5 separate regions of the Homo sapiens genome follow, and regions 1, 2, 4 and 5 are each linked to region 3. Evidence: promoter capture Hi-C in 16 types of primary human blood cells and fetal thymus (Javierre and others, 2016). All regions are on one chromosome and are shown on one strand. The core of a region is centred on a gene start or on the middle of the fragment in contact, and the rest is flanking DNA. Distances in the headings are between cores, read along the strand shown.

Region 1 (2,700 bases), core at 190-2,689, 360 kb after region 3:
CTCCCATGACATGTGGGGATTGTGGGAACTACAAGACGAGATTTGGGTGGGGACACAGCAAAACCACATCAGAAAATAAATTTATAATAGGTCGTAAGTACTACAGAGGAAAATAAAACAAGTTAAGGTGATGGGGGCAATTGCTCATTTAGGTAGGATGGTCAGGAAAGCCCTCTCTGATGAGATGATGTTTGAGCAGAAATCTGAAGGAGTAAAGAGAATAAAACATGTGGTTGTCTGGTTAGAAGACAAGTCTAGGCAGTGAGAACAGCAAGTGAAAAAGCCCTGAGGTTGAAACATACTTGTGTATTCATAGAATACTGAGAAGGCCATTGGGAATGGACCATTATAAGCAAAGAAATAGTAGTAGGAGTTGAGGTCAGAGAGTTAGCAAGTGGGACAAGATCATTTAGGGGCCTCTAGGCCATGGCAAGGGCATTTTTTTTTTTCTTTCCTGGGGATGATAGACATTGGAGGGTTTTGAGCAGGGAAATAAAACATTGTGACTTACAATGTAAAATGATAAGTCTTGTTGCTATTAAATTTCCAAACAAAACTATCAAGTAGGTAGTTAATATTGAAGTCTGAAGTTCAGGGGAGAAACCTGGGCTGGAGATAAAAAGTATGAATGTATAATTTGTTGTCAACATATAGATGATATTTAAATCCATCTCAAATGTTCTTAACTGACTCTCTTGCTTGGAAAAATTTAGGGTGTATTGTTCCAAAATTTTTTATATTTAAATCTTTAATCCACCTGGAATTTTGGAACATAGTTTGATATCACATTCCAGTATTTTTTTTCCATATAGATAACAAACACTATCAAATTAACCATTCTTTTCTCCATATGTATAACCAGCCTCATTTATTACGCTATTTTTTCCCAATGAATTTTTGTATATAAAACTCTCCTGTATACTGGTATCTATTTTTGTATTCGCTACTCTTTCCATGGTCTGTTTGCTCAATCCCAAACCACTTTTCCTATTGATTTGATTGCAGAGGCTTTATTATATGTGTCTGATTAGGTTTGTCCCTCTTTACCCTTCTTATATTTTATACTTTTTGGGAGTATTCTCAGGCATTTTTTCTTTCATATGAATTTTAACATAATTTTATTAAACGAACAAAATACTACATTTGATTTATATGAATTTTGAGAATTCATATAAATTTTGACATGAATTTTACAATTTATGTCTTTCCAGTGTTCCATGGCTAAATAACAATAACTGTTATAACATTATTAGGTTTTGTTTTCTTCATGTAGGTTAAGATTTTGTTTTCTTCATATAGGTTCTGTGTTTTCCTTGTTTACATTTATTACTACTGTACCCCTATTATAGTTTTAGCTGTTATTGTAAGAGGAAAAATTTTCACCTTTTCCTCTTTTGGTTACTGGTTCCAAGTACAAAAAAGTTCTTGATTTTTCTAAATTTAACTTTACTGTAGTCATCTTACCAAATTCTTATTATTAAATCAGGATGCTTTCATTGGTATATTTTCTAAATATATAATCATGTAATCATTAATTTCCTTTTCAGTGTCCATATAAATTACTTCATTTTTGGTCTAATTTCTCTTTATCATGCTTTTTTTGTTACCTTTGCCCCCTTTTTTCATATTTTTAAAACAATTTATTCTGCAAAAATTTCTTGAGCACGTTTTTGTGTGTCAAGTGCTTTATTGGTGCTAGAGATTCAATAATGAACAAAAAGGACAAAATCCCTGTGTGATGGAACTCTATTATTTGCTTCCTGACATTAATTGAAATGACTTAGTGTTTTATTGTTTAGTATATTTTCTGTAGGCTGTGGTGAATAGACTATCATATTTATATAGTTTTCTTTTAGGCCTATATTTCTTAAAGTTTTTATTAGGAATAACTGCTGAATTTTATTTGACTTGTTTTCATCAGCTGATAATATGATAATCTGGTTTGTCTTTTATTGCTTTTTATGGATTATTGATTTTAAAAATTGTTCTCTAATCAAGTATTATTCATTTAGTATTAAGGCAATATGTCTTACTTGATACTGTGTACTTAGCATGCTAGTTACTATCTTTAATTAACAAGTATCATGGATTGTGTTTTCCAAAAATGAACACAACCATAACTCCTATTCCACTGGGTTTTCTTACAGTATAACTTTGAACTTTTTATATTGAGAGGTAGCGTTTTTATACTGAGAGGTAGCGTCTCTGTTCTCTCTCCTTGAATCTGGGTGGGAGTGTGACTATAGCAGAAGTGGCACTATGTGATTTCCAAGACTATATCATAAATGATGATATAGCTTCTCTTCTTGGATACATGGTTTGTGGAACTTAGACACCATTATGTGAGCAAGTCCAAAGAGCCCATGGAGAGGCCATATGTAGGTATTAATACTGACAGTCCCAGCTGAGAGCCCAGCTTACAGCTACATCAACCACCAGTCATATGAATGAATGAACTTCTAGGTGATTTCAGCTCCCAGCTCTTGAGTCACTTTCAGCCTTCAAGTGTTCCCACCTGAGGCCCCAGACATTGTGAAACAGAGATAAGCCAACCTGCTGTACCCTTTCCGAATTCCTGACTCACATAATCTGTGAGACCCACAGTGAAATGGTGGTTGCTTTATGTTTTAAATTTGGGATGGTTTTTATATGGTAATGAGTAACTGAAACAAGAAAAGGACAATTTATATACAAAATTAA
Region 2 (2,841 bases), core at 210-2,709, 340 kb after region 3:
TTAATTTTTAAATTTTTTGTAGAGATGGGGTCTTCAACTCCTGGCCTTAAGCAATCCTCCCACCTTAGCCTTTCATAGTGCAAGGATTACATGTATGGGCCACTAGGCCCAGCCGCTACCTGTGCTTTTTAACTGATTAACTTTAGACATCATCTGTTTACTCCCTTTTTGTAAAATATGAAGATGTATTTCAATTACATTACTCTCTTTCCCTCTTCCATATTCCTACCAATATTTGATAATCGTAATATTTTGTTTTTCTCTTGGTTTTTTTTTTGGAGATGGAGTCTTGCTCTATTGCCAAGGCTGGAGTATAGTGATGTGATCTTGGCTCACTGCAGCCTCCATCTTCTGGTTCAAGCAATTCTCCTGCCTCAGCCTCCTGAGTAGCTGGGACTCCAGGTGTGCATCACCACACCTGGCTAATTTTTGTATTTTTAGTGGAGATGGGTTTCACCATGTTGGTCAGGCTAGTTTTGGACTCCTGGCCTCAAGTAATCTTCCTGCCTCAGCCTTCCAAAGTGCTGGGTTTATAGGCATGAGCCACCGTGTCCAGCCTCTTGGTTGTTCTTACATTAATCAGCTTTTGCTACATAGCAGTCACAATCTTCTGTCTATAATTGGCTAGATTATAGTATGTTAGATAAATATTAGGCAAATATTCACTTTTTTCCCCTTTACCCACCTTTATGGAAAAAGCATACTTTCTCCCATGATTATTGATGTTGGATTTGGGTCTTACGATTTGTGTAAAGTTAATTTTTCCTGTCTTTCGTTTATAAGAAGGGCTCTAATTAATAAAGATGCTAGTTTCTATAAAAGGGAAACCTGAAGATCTTAATGTCAACAAAATAGCCGTGTATTTTTTCACTCCTTTAACTGTCCACTGAAGGTGTTCTTAGCAGGCGGCTTTCCTTCATGTGATGATTCAGTGACCCTAATTCCTTCTGTTTTATAGTTATACCATCCTTAAAATGCCCTGTGATTCTCTGTCTCTTGTAATGGAAGGGGAAGAGAGAATGGAGAAGGCACTTCTTAATTGCCGTAGCAAGGAAATGACAGATTACTTCCTACATTCATTGGCTAAAACTAGACACATGGTCTTGCCTAGACATAAAGGGTCTGAGAGATGAAGTTTTGCCACAAAGGAGGCCTATCCTTTTATTACTATTTTTGGCTGAAGGTAAATACTAGGGTCCTTGTATTTGCTGTGGACAGAGATGGAAGAAAACGGTGGATTTGTTTAGTATAGTTTTCTTGTATTCAGATCTTTAGTTAATCTCTATTCCTAGCTAACCTTCTCACTCTTTCCTTAATGTTCCTTAGAGATAGTTCCTCAGGTGCACTGAACCCAGAATCTCTAAGGTTTCAGTGCACAGGACAGCTTTTATCTCAATTGCAGCTTCCTCCTAGTGATGGTGGCGGCTCATCTGGAGCAGCTGCTGCGGTGAAGGCCGCTGCAGTAGGAGGGGGTGCACCTGGGGCTGTGCCCTCTGTGGAGCCCGTAGGGGGTGGGAACAGGTGATCCCAGTGGAAGCCTCACACTCTACCAAATTGGTGGGGCAGGAGCCTGCACTTCTAGGTGCAGCTGTAACCACCCAGCCATGGCTCCAGACCTGGGCATCCCTGTGCTCTCTGGGGCCCAGGGAGCCTCTTGCCCCCGCAAGTTCGGAAGTGCCTGCTCCCACTCTCCCTGGCCTCTCCCTGCTCTCAGTTTCCACTCTGGTGTGGAGCAAAGTTATAGCTTAGCCCAGGCACTGTCGTGACCCAGCCAGGTGTGTGCATGCCTGGGGCAACACTGACACACCAACTCCCACTGCCGCCTTGAGCACTGATGAGCTCAGAGGGAGCTGAAACTCTGAAACTTTGGGCACTGATGAACTCAAGAGGGAGACCGGGGGTGCTGAGGGCAGCTTGGTGTGGGCCTGTGGGCTCCCCTCAGCATGGACAGCCTGGGCACAAATGGCATGTTGATGGCAACAGGAGGCAGACAGATTCCTAGGTGGGAAGGGGCAGGTCCTTGGTGAAACCCCGTCTTGAAGCCAGGGATGGCCTGAAGCCTGGGGGCCAGGCTGCCAATTACGGGTGGAGTCCGCGGCCCAGAGTGAGAACTTACGGTGCTTTTTCCATGCCTGCCCATGGCTACCCATGGATCAATCAGCATGCACTTCCTCCCTTCTGAGCCCATAAAAACCCTAGACTCATGCAGACTCAGATACTCTTCAGGATGACCTGCCAGTGGAAAGGAGCTACCCACTACACGTCTTCTCTCTACTGAGAGCTGTTCTGTTGCTCAATAAATCTCTGCCTTGTTCACCTTCCAGTTGTCCATGTTACCTCATTCTTCATGGACATGGGACAAGAACTAGGATATCACTGAATGGTAGGTGTGAAAGGAGCTGTAATGCTTTCCTGGCCCGCTTGCCAAGCTGCAGGCAGTGACACGCTCCTGGACTATGAGAGTGAAGAGTGGTAACCCTTCTGGGGACCCAGACCTTGGGATTTCCTGAGGTAGAGCTGCTGTAACACTGTAGCACTTCCACCCTTTGTTGGCGCCGGGTGGCCGCCCCATGCAGTGGGAAGCAGCAGTGGGGCTGGGCCAGCCACGGGCTGCAGTTGTGGTGGTGGGACTGAAAGAGCTATAACACAAATGGGCTTAAACACTCCCCACTGAAACTTGCTGCCATCCCCTGCTCTCTGCACTGCAGGCAATGAGAAGGAGAGAAGAGCTGTAGCCCTTCTGGAAGCCCAGACCTTGGGGCTTCCTAAGCCAGAGCTGTGACATGCTATAACACCCTCTTTGGATGCTCTGTGGTTCCTGGCATCTCCGGGCTTTTGGGC
Region 3 (2,749 bases), core at 195-2,694:
TTCCAAAATCCTCAATGAATTGTCTTCTTATGATCTTGGACAATTAACCTCTCTGAATCCTGTTTTTCTCATCAGCAAAATAAGAGACTTGGACTAGAAAATCACAAGGTCCCATCTAACTCTAAAATTCTGTAAGTCAATTAAAAATAGCTGGACTCTGGCCGGGCGCAGTGGCTCATGCCTGTGATCCCAGCACTTTGGGAGGCCGAGGCGGGCGGATCACCTGAGGTCAGGAGTTCGAGACCAGCCTGGCCAACATGGTGAAACCCCGTCTCTACTAAAGATACAAAAATTAGCCGGGCATAGTAGCTCGCCCCTGTAATCCCAGCTACTCGGGAGGCTGAAGCAGGAGAATCGCTTGAACCAGGGAGGCGGAGGTTGCAGTGAGCCGAGATTGCGCCACTGCACTCCAGCCTGGGCGACAAAGCAAGACTCCGTCTCAGAAAAAAAAAAAATAGCTGGACTTCTGAAATGATGTTCATTCACTACCAGAGGAGAAAGAGAAGGAAAACTCAACATGCATTTATATTTAAATCTAAAACCTTTTTAAACCAAGTTAATTTGGCTAGTTATCCATGGCTTTGGACGGTAGAGGTTGAGGGAGTTCAAGTGAAAACGAGAATTCCACATCCCCACTTCAGTGATTGATGTAGATTTACTATGACCTTCCTCAGGCAGTACCTTTACCACCAAATCGGGAAACACTACCTACCGTAGAAAGAAAGCCCAGTGAGATAGGGCTGGTCCTGCTGGAAAACTGAACTCTTTGTAATCAAAACCCAAGGCATTATCTTTACCAAGCTCTTTTCCCCTTTAACCCCTTTAACTTCCAAGGCTGAATTACGGTGACGTAGTCAATTGGGTTCAAAGTCTAGGACACTCCATATCTGGCAAGGAATGAAACAGTAAGTCCAAGGGCCCAGAGGCGATGATGGACTTGGGTGGAGGTGGGTGGCCCAGGAGGTGGGGGTGGGTGCTGGGCGAGATGCTCGAACCACCGTTTTCCACATCTTTCCACCTAATCCAGGGGAGCTGGAGGAGGCCGGGCCCCCGGCCCCGGCAGAGCGAAGTGGGTGAGAGGGTGGCAAGCTCAGCACTCAACGCTCCCCGCGCCGGACCGGGCCTCAGCCTCCAGCACACCTCGCTGGCCCCGGGGCACCGAGAGGGCAGAGCCGGGACCACCCCAGGATCCCAGCCCCCAGCCCGCCGCCGCCAGCCCGCCCCCGCTCCCCGCTGCGCACCTGCGGTCCCCCAGGAGCGGAGACGAGGCGGCCCTTTCCTCACTGTCCCCCTGCAGGACCCGTCGCAGCCTCCGCTTTGCAAAATCTGTCCTCTCCGCCCAGCAGGAGCAGTCCGTGGCACCGCAATCAGGGGTGGCGCCACCCCGCCCCGGGCCTCAGCGAAGACCTCCGCCCGGCCAACATGGCTGGCGCCGCCTCTGCCACGTCAAGAGGAGGGGACGGGGCGTGAGGGCAGGAAGGGGGCAGGAAGGGGCGGGCGCAGAGTTACCAGGGCAGGCCACCGGACCCCTGAGCTTGCTTAATAACCGGAGGATTTGAGAAAGGCGCGCGGCGGGCGAAGGTACCGAGAGGGGAGGAGGGAGGAGAGGTAGCGGGGACCGAGCCAGAGGGGCGGAAGAACCCGGAAGACCCAGGCAGCCGGACGGCCGAGGGGCGTGGGACCGGGCAGAGCGGGACCGGGAGAGAGCGCCTTTCCCAGCTCCCTAAAGCCACAGCGTATCCCACTCCCTGCAGGTCGCAGAAAGAGTGGAGAACTGGTGCCACTCGGACACCTTAGCTCACCGAGAGAAATGGAGACGGCCTCCAGGACATCTTAGGACCCTGGTTGATTCCGAGAATCACAAATCACATCTCTGAAAAAAGTGAAAAGTTCATTCTTTCACTTAGTGCAACAAATGTTTACTGAAACTTACTATGTGCCAGACACAATTGAGATGCTGGTAATATGATGCAGGCAAAGTAGGCCCAGATCCCTGGCCCGAAAGAATTCACGTACTATTTATGTATTTTAGTCAGCCTGTCTTTTCCTCCTACATTGCCTCTGCCACTTCAACTCTGTCTCCCCCCACCCCCAAAACACACACACAGTACAATATTTGGCTGATTCATCTTGATATGTTCAATGTTTTTCTTTCCAAGAAAAAAGTTGAACAAAATGAGAAAGCAACAGATTGGTAAGACATTAGAGCTTGGTGGTCTCAGACAACCCCTTCCTTCAGTGAGGGGAATGAAATTAAGTGCCCATGGAATTAATTGCATATATGACAACGCCTAAAAGCCTGCAAAGTTTAGCCATATCAACATTTTATGGAATGGAAAAAAAGATCAAGTCCCTGTCCTTGAAAGCTCATATTCATGAGAAATAAGACAGCAGCACCAGGCTGGGCGCGGTGGCTCACGCCTGTAATCCCAACACTTTGGGAGGCGGAGGCAGGCGGATCACAAGGTAAGGAGTTCGAGACCAGCCTGGCCAACATAGTGAAACACCGTCTCTACTAAAAATACAAAAATTAGCCGGGTGTGGTGGCACGCTCCTGTAGTCCCAGCTACTCGGGAGGATGAGGCAGAAGAATTGCTTGAACCCGGGAGGCGGAGGTTGCAGTGAGCCGAGACCACGCCATTGCACTCCAGCCTGGGTGACAGAGTGAGACTGTCTCAAAAAAAAAAGCACCAAACATATTTCCCTTTCTATAATGTGTGTACTAAAGTTGTTTTGGAAGGTGGAAGAG
Region 4 (2,700 bases), core at 31-2,530, 380 kb after region 3:
ATTTGGCTGTGAATCTATCTAGTCCTGGTCTTTTTTTAGTTGGTAGGCTATTAACTAGTGCCTCAATTTCAGAACTTGATATTGGTCTACTCAAGGATTCGACTTCTTCCTGGTTTAGTCTTGGGAGGGTGTATGTGTCCTAGAATTTATTCATTTCTTCTAGAACTTCTAGTTTCTTCGTGTAGAGGTGTTTATAGTATTCTGTGATGGTAGTTTGTATTTCTGTGGGGTCAATGGTGATATCTCCTTTATCATTTTTTTCTTGTGCCTATTTGACTCTTCTCTCTTTTTTCTTCATTAATCTAGCTAGCAGTCTATTTTGTTAATTTTTTTTTTTAAAAACCAGCTCCTGGATTCATTGATTTTTTTTTGAAGGTTTTTTTCATGTATCTGTCTCCTTCAGTTCTGCTCTGATCTTAGTTATTTCTTGTCTTCTGCTAGATTTTTTGTTTGCTCTTGCTTCCCTAGTTCTTTTAATTGTGATGTTAGGGTATCGATTTGAGATCTTTCTAGCTTTCTGATGTGGGCATTTAGTGCTAAAATTTCTGTCTTAACACTGCTTTAGCTGTGTTCCATAGATTCTGGTACATTGTCTCTTTATTCTCATTGATTTCAAAGAACTTCTTGATTTCTGCCTTAATTTTATTATTTACCCAAGAGTCATTCAGGAAAAGCTTGTTCAGTTTGCATGTAATTGTGTGATTTTGTGTGAGTTTCTTAATCCTGAGTTCTAATTTGATTGCACTGTGGTCTGAGACACTGAAAAACAAATCTTTGAAATAAAACTTCAGTAGATGGATTTAAGGAGAGTCACTATGGAGACCTGTGACTATGGAGTGTCACTATAGGTTGGAAAAATTAGGAGGAAGAAATATCTAAAAACTAAGAAGAAATACATATAGAGAAGTAAATTATGATGAAGATATTTGACTCAAGATTCTTTTCCATAGCCTTTCCTTGAAATTGCTGGAGCTTGTGCATCATCAAAATAATGGCATAAACCAAGGAAGAAGAAAACAAAATTGAGGAAATGGGATCCAACACAAAAGAGAGACAACAGGATTAATTGAGTGTTGGTGAAAAGCCACAGCCTGTAAATAATGCAGTTCGAACTGAAATAGACCAGGAGGCTCAAGGAGAGACTTCTTCAAGAAGATAAAATTGATAGAATGCCTAAGGAGTTTGAGTGCATTGAGAATAGATTCATATCAGTTCTGGAGAACTGGGTGGATACATTAATGTTAAGTACATAGAAAAGTTAAAAATGAAAAAAATTCTCAATTCTAGGGAAAATAATCATAGTAAACTACATGTTTTAGTTACCAATAGTGTTTACGTAGTCAATATAAACAATGGGCATTGATATAAATAATGTATGTTGATCTGCTATAACAAGGTAAAATGCTATTGGGGAAACAAGATAACCTGTGTGTGTGTGTGTGTATGTTTGTTGAAATTATTGCTTTTATATGGAAAAGATTTAAATTATTAGCTTCTGCAATAAATAATATAGATAATAATGCCTATAACTAAAGTTAGTAACAGTATAAGACTATAACAATGTTATTTAGGAATTTGGGGCAAATACCAAAAACCAGCAAAAAGAGTTGAAAGCAATTCAGGGAGTGAGAAATTTGAAGTGTGGGGGGATCTAATTTTTTCATATCTAACCTTGTAGAAGTTTTAAATGATGCACATGTGTAACTCTGCTAAAAATAGCCCCCTAAATTATAAATAAAAGGAAATCATGGGATAAGACAGACCAAGAGGTGTAATATTAGGAGTTCTAGGAGGTTAAAAAAAAAAGAAAATGTGAGAGAAAATAGTATGATTATATTAGAAGAAACCTACATCTGCAACTTGAAGAGTGCCCCAGTCTCTCTAATCCAAGCTTTATTTAGGATGGATGAGGAAAAAAAGGTAATAGGCATATTCCTATAAAATTTTCAGACTCCAAAGATAATGATAAAATCTTACAGGGTCCAGATAGAAAAAAAACGTTAGTTGGAAAGGACAAATAATCAGACATACATTACATTTCCTGTGTGCACTTCTTGAGACTGGAATGTGGTGGTTTAATGGTAGTAGACCAGAAGATTACACCCATGAATCTTAGGCTAGGCTAAGCTAAGCTATCAGTTACCTCTTAGGGAGAAAGATGTTTGCAGATGTGTGAGAATTCAGAGATTAGAGAAGTCTTGAGAAAATATACCAGTCAACAAAAGGGCTTGAACAGTGACTCTAGGATATGAGAAGATAATGAAGGGAAATAGTGGTAAGCAATAATCTTGGCAGTATACACGATTTTCTTTTTTTTTTTTTCATTATACTTTAAGTTCTAGGGTACATGTGCACAACGTGCAGGTTTGTTACATATGTATACATGTGCCATGTTGGTGTGCTACACCCAATAACTCGTCATTTAACATTAGCTATATCTCCTAATGCTATCCCTCCCCCCTCCCCACACCCCACGACAGGCCCCGGTGTGTGATGTTCCCCTTCCTGTGTCCATGTGTTCTCATTGTTCAATTCCCACCTGTGAGTGAGAACATGCGGTGTTTGGTTTTTGGTCCTTGCGATAGTTTGCTGAGAATGATGGTTTCCAGCTTCATCCATGTCCCTACAAAGGACATGAACTCATCATTTTTTATGGCTGCATAATATTCCATGGTGTATATGTGCCACATTTTCTTAATC
Region 5 (2,816 bases), core at 237-2,736, 380 kb before region 3:
GCACCCAGCCTGGGAGAAAGATGTAGGCTGGGAGGCTAGGCCAGTCTCTCTTTTCAGATTTTTCTGCCTGCTTATATTCTAGCTGTGCTGGCAGCTAATTAGATTGTGCCCACCCAGATTAAGGGTGGGTCTGCCTTTCTCGGCCCACTGACTCAAATGTTAATCTCCTTTGGCAACACCCTCACAGACACACCCAGGATCAATAATTTAATCCATGATTGAATCCTTCAATTCAATCAAGTTGACACTCAGTATTAACCATCACAGGTATACTCTCTTAAATTAGAATCCAAAATATAATCTTCATGTGCTGTTGTTATTAATATTTCAAATCTTTGGTAGATTAAAATAATATGACTTAAGTAGTTTAAATTCACAGTGTAATTGTAACTATACATATGTTTGGAAACCTGGATATATCAATGCAGTATGTGAGACAGGAAAATAATTAGGTTACAAAGACAGTACAGATCTAATAATTCTGTCCTGTTGGAGCACATAACAGAAGAAAAACACACGAGAGGTAACACTGAGACCTAATAAAAACAACCAAAAGGAACTGCCCAGCAGAGAGGAAGAGACTCAGACGCAGCAGTTTTGGCCGCGTAACTGATTGACTAAGCAACCTGAAGCCTGTCATGAATCGGTGTTTTATTCAAATGTGAATAAAGATGACTGCCCCAAATTTTAGTTACCACGGTGTGAAAACATTCATTTTTCACTGTCAGTCAGAAAATATAAATTCTCTGTTAGCTATGTCTCCAGACACACTCTCAGCCATGGCTGGAATAAGCTTTGATTCCATCTAGGCTGGGAGTGTAAACTACTCATTTCCTCACACTGTACCACGGCTATCCCAATACAGGCCTCCAGGAGGCAGTGTCTCTTCATTTTAACTGAGTGCATGAATTCTGCCAGTTCTTCAATATACTTAACTTCTGTCTTCATTCTCCTAGGAAACCTTTCTAGTCCAAGAGAAAGTATTCTGTAATGGTAGCCCTCCCACTGGCCCACCCATCATGGAATAATGCATCATGACTTTGCTAGGTTGGGTGAGTTCGTTCAAAGGTCACACACAGGCCTTTGGTTTCGGGAAAGGTAGAGAGAAAGGGACCACAATTTTGAGAGTAAAAGGACAGGAATGATTTTATGTTTGCAGCACTTGAGGGAAGATGTGATTTTTAAAACAGAGCTTAAAAACCTAAACAAACAAAAAATTCTTGGCCCTCATATGTGTATAGGTTGTCCTAAGGAATGCCTTTATTGCTTTACATATGACAACCAAAGTTCCTGTTGAGACCTCAGGTTGACACTTTGTTACTTTTCCCACTGAAAGTTGCTTTTGATGTTCGTTCGCACTGATTTTTACCTTCAACCAAGCCCTTGGATGTGATGTTAGCCATTGCCACTATCAAATACCCTAGAAGAGTGGATATAACCCTTTTTTGATGAGTGTCTTTGAAGTTCCAATGAGATACATGTATATTGCTGAACCTACACATATGTATATATCTTTATGCTTTGCTAACAATTTCAAGGATCTCCTAGACTTTGTTCAGTAAAGTCTTCTAGGTGAAGAAGAGAGAGCCCCTTACAGCTCTCTCACTGCTATCCTAGGTCAATTAGATTAGTCTGGTAATTAAGTGGTTTTTTGTGAACCAGTAACTGTATTGAAAGTCAAATATCAACAATTCAGGAAAACTGTCTTTGACTTCTTTATTTGGAAATATTCTATGAAGAGAGAATTTTTAATCACCACATAGGACTGATGTTTTATTTGTAGTTTGATCACCAGGTAACTGCTTCATTCATGCATTTCATTTATTTTTACTATCATTACCTCGCTTTACATAATAATATTTAACAATTACTGTAATCAGAACACTATTCACACTTTAACCAAGTGTCTTTTATGACACTCCTGAGAAAGAGATATCTCTTCTGGATAACCAAGCCAGAGAAGAATAGTTCAATAGCTTTATTACTATGATAGTGAAAGTTGATATCAATGCTAAATTGATGACTCTCTATCCTAGGATCATCAAACCACACCTTTCTCCTTTATAAAAGTCAGCAATACTTCCACATTTGCTAATTTCATAAATGATTTAGTAATATCAACTAATACAAAGTATTTGCAAAGCATCTGAAAAAAGTCATTTTCAGACAAAATCCTCATCAAGCTTAAAATTTCATGTCCTAAATTTAGAATATTATAGTCACAAAAACTACCTCCATTTTATCATAAAGTGTCTATTGATGTCACCACCACTGTCATTGTTGCAATTGTCATTCATTGGTTCAAGCTTTAAGATCAGAGTGGCACCTAGTGGTACATTCTTTTTCTTTTCCCCCTCTTTTGTTCTGCTTCAAATTATCAACAGGTACACTTTGAATACACATTGAGTACTCATTATAACAACTTTATTAATGAAATGCTTACTACCACCACTTCCCTAAACTTATAGAAACAAATCATTTTGGAATTTGAAATCTCATATTTTGAAAATACGTGACACGAAAATGTTGTTGACAGAACGGAAGCTCATTGGTAATATTTACTGACAATGAAAGTTCTAAAATGGAATATAAAAATGAGATGTTTCTTTAAAAATCAAGAAATGTAAAAGGCATGCTAATATGATAACGGCCATCCCAAGACAATAACTCAAGAATTAACTGTCTGCAAATAATCATCTGTGAAACAGTACCTTGACTTTAAAGTCCTTAAAAATGCAAGCATGAAGATAACGGAGCTAATCATACTAATTAACTCACTGTGCCTTGTAACAAATTAATTTTGAGTAAAGGAACAG

Evidence for each region. Contacts are between HindIII fragments. The CHiCAGO score rates a contact against its expected background, and 5 or more counts as called.
Region 1: a fragment that was not itself captured here is called in contact with the fragment with the promoter of SEC23A in region 3 in 1 of 17 cell types (fetal thymus); the score reaches 5.3 in fetal thymus.
Region 2: a contact is called between a fragment that was not itself captured here and the fragment with the promoter of SEC23A in region 3, in 10 of 17 cell types (fetal thymus, non-activated CD4 T cells, total B cells and 7 more). The highest score is 11.0, in fetal thymus.
Region 4: a contact is called between a fragment that was not itself captured here and the fragment with the promoter of SEC23A in region 3, in 1 of 17 cell types (total B cells). The highest score is 5.1, in total B cells.
Region 5: a contact is called between a fragment that was not itself captured here and the fragment with the promoter of SEC23A in region 3, in 2 of 17 cell types (M2 macrophages and neutrophils). The highest score is 6.4, in M2 macrophages.

The regions. Positions count from the first base shown.
Region 1 is chr14:39,457,502-39,460,201 of GRCh38, forward strand. All of the region lies in intron 1 of LOC105370461 (a long non-coding RNA gene), which reads left to right. Among named protein-coding and RNA genes, the nearest start is that of FBXO33, 26 kb to the left of the region's middle. The HindIII fragment of the contact is 9,042 bases long and covers 1-2,700 here.
Region 2 is chr14:39,439,437-39,442,277 of GRCh38, forward strand. The region is part of intron 1 of LOC105370461 (a long non-coding RNA gene); the gene reads left to right. Among named protein-coding and RNA genes, the nearest start is that of FBXO33, 8.4 kb to the left of the region's middle. The HindIII fragment of the contact is 8,991 bases long and covers 1-2,841 here.
Region 3 is chr14:39,101,791-39,104,539 of GRCh38, forward strand. SEC23A (SEC23 homolog A, COPII component) reads right to left here and starts at 1,445. Exons shown (of 20, transcript NM_006364.4): 1 at 1,242-1,445. SEC23A-AS1 (SEC23A antisense RNA 1) reads left to right here and starts at 1,350. Exons shown (of 2, transcript NR_146545.1): 1 at 1,350-1,581; 2 at 1,755-2,022. RefSeq lists silencers at 1,051-1,130, 1,151-1,270, 1,431-1,660. The HindIII fragment of the contact is 19,881 bases long and covers 1-2,749 here.
Region 4 is chr14:39,478,919-39,481,618 of GRCh38, forward strand. All of the region lies in intron 2 of LOC105370461 (a long non-coding RNA gene), which reads left to right. It overlaps LOC105370460 (a long non-coding RNA gene), which reads left to right. Exons shown (of 3, transcript XR_001750731.2): 2 at 951-1,396. Among named protein-coding and RNA genes, the nearest start is that of FBXO33, 48 kb to the left of the region's middle. The HindIII fragment of the contact is 1,217 bases long and covers 673-1,889 here.
Region 5 is chr14:38,721,159-38,723,974 of GRCh38, forward strand. No RefSeq gene overlaps it. Among named protein-coding and RNA genes, the nearest start is that of LINC00639, 190 kb to the right of the region's middle. The HindIII fragment of the contact is 1,390 bases long and covers 792-2,181 here.